2 separate regions of the Homo sapiens genome follow, and region 1 is linked to region 2. The links are contacts of gene promoters, found by promoter capture Hi-C in human tissues and cell types (Jung and others, 2019). All regions are on one chromosome and are shown on one strand. The core of a region is centred on a gene start or on the middle of the fragment in contact, and the rest is flanking DNA. Distances in the headings are between cores, read along the strand shown.

Region 1 (3,694 bases), core at 115-2,614, 570 kb after region 2:
AAATGAAACTAACATAAAATGAGTACAGCATGTTGGTTGCTCCTCTAAGCCCTAAACTGTCCTCCCAGCACCCCTACGACACAGGTACAGTACAATTACATCTTTCCTTTAAGAGGAGGCACTAATAGATTTAGTAGTTTTCCCAAGGCCACAGGGGCAGAGGCATAAGTCAACCCAGGTAGCTCGCTCCAAAGCCACACTTAATCACAATGAACTGGCTCAAGAAAAAGGAGAATAGAATGACATCAAACCAACAGTGGTGACCTGCGGGGAGTCAGGTGTGCTGGGAGACTACACTATTTACTTTCCACACAAAGCTCTGTATTGTTGAAAATTCTGTCCCCAGGCATAAACTGTCATGCTTTTAAATTCAATACTTTTTATAAGAATAATATAAGAGCATAAAATACTACTCAACTGTGGTCAAAGGCTAATTCAGGAATTGTGGGTTTTGAAGCTTGTTTATGGAGGAAGGAGACTCTAAGGATAAGAATTCAAAATAGAAATACAAAATTACATATAAAAGTAAATATTTATGGCCAGGTGCACTGGTTCACACCTGTAATCCCAGCACTTTGGGAGGCCGATGCAGGAGGCTTGCTTGAGCTCAGGAGTTCAAGACCAGTCTGTGCAACATAGTGATACCCCATCTCTACAAAAAAGTTAGAAAAACTAGCTGGGTGTGGGATAGTCCTAGCTAGCTGGGAGGCTGAGGTGGGAGGATCACTTGAGCCCAGGTGTTGGAGGCTACAGTGGGCTATGATTGCACCACTGCTCTCCAGCCTGGGCTGCAGGGGGAGACCCTGTCTCAGAAAAAGAGTGAAAGTTTATTTAGATTGAAATATGAAATCGTAACAAATTACACATTTTTGCTCTTTTTTTTTTTTTTTTTTTTTGAGATAAGATCTCACTGTGTCACCCAGGCTGGAGCACAGTGGCACTATCATGGCTCAATGCAACCTCCACCTCCCAGGCTCAAGTGATCCTCCCACCTCAGCTTCCCAAGTAGCTGGGACCACAGGCACCCACCACCATAACTGGCTGATTTTTGTATTTTTTGTAGAGGCAGGGTTTTGCCATGTTGCCCAGGCTGGTCTCAAACTCCTGAGCTGAAGAGATCCACCCACCTCTGCTTCCATAAGGGCTGAGATTACAGGCGTGAGCCACCGTGCCCGGCCACACATTTTTGAAAAGTGACAAACACCACAAATATAACAAAATCCTGAAAAATGACATAACCTCTACAATATTTTTTCCTATTCTTTGGCTGCATACTTTTCATATGATCATCTCGTCACATAACAACTGTGCAATATCATTTTCATGTAAAGAAGACAAAGCAATTCAAATGCATTTTAAAATGCCATTATGTTGGATAGAGCTACATAATTGTTTAATTGAATTCTCCCTCTGCTGTGTACAATAACTTATGGATGAATATGCTTGGGAGCTTTGTGACAAGAACACTTAGGGTGCTTTGCTGTGATTTTAGTGCTTTTGAATGTTTTTTTGTCTGGTGTTGCCAGGTTTCATCAGGACAAGTTATATCAGATATGCTAAGACTGACTCAATATGTTGGTAGACATAAAATGCAGTTTGGCATGCATAAAAATGATACTTCACAGTTTATAGTATTGCTACAGCTTTGTGCTCTACAAACACGAGAATTCTAATCAATTCTATTTTGCATTGATTTCTACTTTAAAAGTATGATAGTATGGTGCATTATAATTGTATATACCACATTTCTGAGTATTTTCCTGAAGATAATTTCTGTCTTGACTAGACATCAATGAGAACCAAATATTTCACTCATAATTGTGTACAGCTGATGATTGAAAGAACATTCCACAGATTAGCTTCTCATTCTGCACATTTTAACTCTTGCTTCTTCTTCACTCCCACATGCTTCCAGTGTCAGGCATCATAGGAAACATTTAAATCATAATAAGACCCATGATGCCACAGAGCATGCACTGAGCAAGAGGGTTCCTGGAAGCCTAGAATACCCAAGAATAACCAACAATTTCTCGACTCTACATGGAAGTGTGAACCATATATATAGATCCCACTCGACCAAAACAAATAAATCTCCAACTCAACTTCTCCTTAGCTGGATTCCCCAAAATGCTCATGCCTCTCCATCACCACACAACTCCTCAAGGGAAAAGTGACGCAGGGGCAAACAGAGTCAACAGCATCCTTAGCTTATGACAGTTAAAATCTTACTTTTACATTTTTACCAAAAGCATGTGACCATGTGAACCCAAGCAAAGGTGCTTCTGGGATCTTGGAAGTCATTCTTATAACTAGCAGGTCCTAAAGCTTAAGCTCCTTTCTAGAAAATCTACTCTGATTGTGGTGAAGACGACCATTGCAACAAGAGCCACGCTCACGGAGAAAGCAGTGCGTACTGGAGTTGTCAAGAAAAACTTCTTGTAGGAGACAGGCACTGAGCAAGGCCTTAAGTCATTGGTAGGATCCAACAAACAGAGGAATAGGATGGGAGTCTAAGCCACAAAGTTTCTGCATCTGCCAAAAAGTAGATATGCATGTATGTGGATGTAAAACGTGTTTTCCTGCCAATGAAAACATTTTTCCGTCACTGGCTTAGAGCTACCTAATAAGAGCCAATGGCAATACATTTACACATCACTAAAGAATGAGAAGTGAACTTTCTTCCCGGTCCCCTCTCCCCATCACCATCAGCAAATAATCACTCCCAAGCCAAGATTAACCAGAGCTGCAGGCATTTGGCACACATGTGGTCCCCATCCACCTCTTCCAACCTGGGATCCAAAAACCCTGGATTTACACCCCAGGCAAAAGAGAGACTGGCCTGAGACTAAGTCTTCGGTGGTAGATGCAGGAAGCAAAGCCTGGTGGATGCCAGTCCAATCAGCGTGAGGAAGGAAGATTCATGCCCAGTTCTCACCCCTCTTTCGCTTGAATATATTTTGTGCCATTACCTGCAGGAAAGGGGGAAGGGAAGGAATGTTTCCCGCCAGAGGCAGCAGCTGTCCCCTCATTTGGAAGACTCTGAGTTGATTTTGGCCATGTCCTTCTGCCTGTTTCTTTAACATGCTGCATTAAGCCTCAGCTTTGCTCCTCTTGCTCCTGAATTCTGTTTTGAAATATCAGAGAAATGCTCCCAGGAGGACTTTGAATGTGAGCACTCTTTATAGGCTATTTTAAGGAGCTCCCAGCTCAGGCCAGGGTCAGGCAACAACAGCTAAACCCAAACTCATCAGCACCATGGTCTACCCAGGAAAGCACAAAGACTCAAATGTCACTGAGTTCACCACCATTCGTTTAGCACCTACTGTATGCCGGGAGTGCTCTTAGAAATTAGGGTGATAATCCTAAACCAAAAGAACAAAGCTGGAGGCATCATGCTACCTGACTTCAAACTATACTACAAGGTTACAGTAACCAAAACAGCATGGTACTGGTACCAAAACAGAGATATAGACCAATGGAACAGAACAGAGCCCTCAGAAATAATGCTGCATATCTACAACTATCTGATCTTTGACAAACCTGACAAAAACAAGAAATGGGGAAAGGATTCCCCATTTAATAAGTGGTGCTGGGAAAACTGGCTAGCCATATGTAGAAAGCTGAAATTGGATCCCTTCCTTATGCCGTATACAAAAATTAATTGAAGATGGATTAAAGACTTAAATGTTAGACC
Region 2 (3,678 bases), core at 961-3,460:
CCTACTGAAGATGTAAAGAGCTGTTACTATGATGCTGGACAGTGGGATATTAAGTTTTGCCTAACAGAAGTCTTAGGGGAGGGTACAAAATTATGTGAACTTCCCAGTTGATTATGAAACAACTTTGCTACATTTTTGGCATAAAGAGATAGAAGTAACAGTAATATATAGCATCCACAAAAAAACTCAACAAGCATCTACTTATCAGGTTTTATCTTTTAATCCCCTATGGACTCTGTGATGCTACAGTTATTACTTATATATTTAAATCACAGACTGGACACCTGGTTTTTCCAGTCACATAATTAAGTTTACATCTCAGTATTACCATTTAGCCTACTTTCCATTTTTTATCTGAAAATTAATCTTATTAAGATTAAAAACTCAAATATACCTATTTCGTTTTTTATAACTTAATTCAACTTTTTTTCTGACCGATTAAAGGGAATGCCTACCAATGTCAGTTTTCCGATTATTCTCCCTGGACTTGGAAGTGGCTAGGCTATATTACTAACAGTATTATACAACCTAATTAGAGAACAATAAAGTTGACCTTTGAAAATAACATATCAAACATCAGAAAGTGTCTTTTCTTCATCTGCTTTAAGGATTACATTTGTTTCTTTTGTGTAAATAATACATTATTACAATTTGAGATTATTTACTTAATCTTTAATACAATGAGAGCTAAAAATAAATCAATAAACATTTGAAAATATTTTCTACAATTCTATTTCATCTCATTTACTAGTAACATTTAAGTTCAGCCTCACTTTTGAACACTCATTTCCTAAACCTCAATTGTCTGTAATAATTTTATGTTTTCTTGTGCAGTAGTTTTCCTTCCGCTGGGTCATCTATTAACACTTCTCCAACAAACCAGAGTCTTCTTATGAAGGACTGTTGTGAATACTGGCATTCGTAAATTTCTAAAAATAAAATTTCCCAGGTGCACAGTTTTCCTCCCTGTCAGCATAATCTTGGGCTAAAGTTGTTGTTTAACAAGGCAATGGGCATTTATGACATTTCTACCCATTACAGCATTTAACAAATGTTATTGTAATTGCTAATTCACCTGTCTGTATTCCACTTTAGACAATAAACTCTGTGAGATTAGAGACCGTGTCCATCTAGTTCATCTTTGTATCCTCAATCTAATATATAATAAAAGGTCAATAAAATATATGCTGAATCAATGAAAGTCCCAGCAATGTGGGGAATGGTAATGAAGAACTCCAGAGCAATGCACTTACCTGTGAGATCCAGGGTTCTGTCCACAAAAACCACTGATGCCCTGCCTGCAGCAGTCTTCTTCCTGTTCTTTGCAGGGGCATAATTGGCCAGATCCGCAGCGATGACCTGACTTAAGGAACCTACAGCAAAACACTCCTCCCGTACTCCTAAATGTTCACACAGAGAACTGAGGCCTGACACTAGGCATCTGATCTGCAGCAGCAGCTCTGGGGTTAGCGTAGTGGAGTCCACATCACCCAGGCTTCCCAGCTTCCTCTTGTCCGGTCGGGCGCTATTAAGGAGGTGCACATCCTGGGGTAGCAGTGGGAAAAGGGATGCAAAAGCTGGAGTCAAGGCAAAGTGGGGAGCAACAGGGGCAAGCAATAACGGGACATGGAACACCTCGGCCGTGTAGTTCATGTTGCCCATCCATTCACACAGCTTCTCCTCCAGCTGCTCGAACACCGGCTGCTGCCCCTCCATCTCGGCCGCTGCCGCCGCTGGGACATGATTAGCTGTGAGGTGGACAGCGTGGCTCACGGTTGTGACCACCACACAATACTGGAAGTGACTGCGGCAGATGATGTCCCGTAGGATCTCCACGGTCCGGCCTTTCAGCAGGCAGCTCAGCACAAACACTGCCTTGGGCTGCTTGGCTCCACCACCAATTGCGTCGGGCTCGAACTCTCGCAGGTGACAGTCAGGACCCCCCACCGCCTCCAGGAGACGGGTGGATCCGCAGCCCCAGTGCAGGCTCTCGGCGCAGGCGGCGTCCAGGTAAACCACAGCCCGTTTCACTTTGGCCAGCACCTGCTCCCATCCTTGCTGGGTAAAGGACAGTACGCCCGAGGCGCTCATGGTTGGGGATTCGCAGACTTGGGAAACTACGGTGCAGGAACTTCTTTCAGAACTCACCGCTTCCGGAAATTGGGCTCCGGGAGACTTTGACAGTCTCCACAGTACACGTGGTCGGCCTCTGACACGCTCCCTGATGGCGCTCGGTGATGACGTTAAACTGAGCGGTGATTGGCTAGAGAGGAGGCCGGGAGTGAGGAAGGATGGCGCGGTCGGGAAAGAAGTGGGTGGGGCTCTGTGGCTCCGGGCTTCCTCAAAAGCTCGTGGAGATCAGGTGTTTCCTGAGATGGAGCTGAACTGAGTTCTTTCCGTCGCTCGGCCTGTCTGCGCAGATAATCTTCTCAGATAATCTTCTCATGTTCCTTGAAAAGTCTCCGAAATAAAAACCTAATCCGAAATTTGGTATCTTCCTTAGATATGAACACGTCTCCAAAAGTACAGCCACCTTCTCAATCTAAACTCAGAGCAACTAGAAAAAGATAATAAAAACAACCGTGTGCAATATTTTGGGTTTATAGATTGCTGTCACATACGTTATCGCCCACAAGCCTCATAACAAACCCTGTTGTTCTCATTTTCACTTTCTCCATCTTTCCTCCCTCATCTCATCGTCACTACATCTTATAGGCTTAAAAACTCTCAGAATTCAGCCCTTCCTCTCCATTTTTGCTGTCACAAAAACCCAACATCATCGCTCACCCAGGCAATGATCTCCCAACATTTTCTGACTTTTGATCTCTTTACCCTCCAATTCTATTTTCTTCCTAATAAACAAAGTTGGTCCTACAACTTTCCTGCTTAAAAGCTTCTCCTAGCCCAGTTGCCTATAGGATACATCCACACTCTTTAAAAAGCATCAACATCCTTCTTGATTTCTCAATTTCTCTCCAGCTATTCCCAACATGGAGAAAAATTGTACCGATACAATGAAGTCAATAGGCTGAACCCAAAATGTTTTATGGGTTCTGTTTGTTCCACCAATATACTTACATTACTAAGTATAATCTCTGTGCTAAGCTTCAAAGATGCAATGGTTAATAAAATTCATTACCTAATCCACAAAGAATTTACCTGGTAAACTTACCGAAAATAATCATTCCAACAGTACTGCCTGTGAGAGACTTTTTCTAACTCACCACCACTATCACCCTATCACCTCTCACTTCCCCCACCTATCAAACCACTCAATTGATACATTCGCTAAGTACTTGCCATATCATGGGGTAAGTATTAACACTATTTTCTTTAAACTATCTGTTTTGCTAAATTATGCACTAGATGCTTGGTATCCCCAACACTTATAACAGGTGTTCAATAAATGTTCGTTGAATGAATGTTCAATTAATATCCATGGCCAGGCGCGGTGGCTCATGCCTGTAATCCCAACACTTTGGGAGGCCGAGGTGGGCAGATCACCTGAGGTCAGGGGCTCAAGACCAGCTTGGCCAACATGGTGAAGCTCCGTCTCTACTAAAAGTACAAAAAATAGCTGGACATGGTGGCAGGTACCTGTAATCCCAGCTACTCGGGAGGTTGAGGCAGGAGAATCACTTGAACCCAGGAGGGAGAGGTTGCAGTGAGCCAAGATGG

Evidence for each region. The method cuts DNA at HindIII sites, captures the fragments that hold promoters and counts their contacts. A contact is called where the count stands out against the background at its distance.
Region 1: a contact is called between a fragment that was not itself captured here and the fragment with the promoter of SCFD2 in region 2, in 2 of the 25 tissues and cell types used here (aorta and spleen).

What each region holds. Positions count from the first base shown.
Region 1 is chr4:53,930,344-53,934,037 of GRCh38, forward strand. No RefSeq gene overlaps it. Among named protein-coding and RNA genes, the nearest start is that of CHIC2, 130 kb to the right of the region's middle. The HindIII fragment of the contact is 4,528 bases long and covers 1-3,628 here.
Region 2 is chr4:53,363,851-53,367,528 of GRCh38, forward strand. SCFD2 (sec1 family domain containing 2) reads right to left here and starts at 2,211. Exons shown (of 9, transcript NM_152540.4): 1 at 1,254-2,211. The coding sequence starts at 2,091. RefSeq lists enhancers at 1,637-1,686, 1,907-2,106, 2,127-2,176. The HindIII fragment of the contact is 11,346 bases long and covers 1-3,549 here.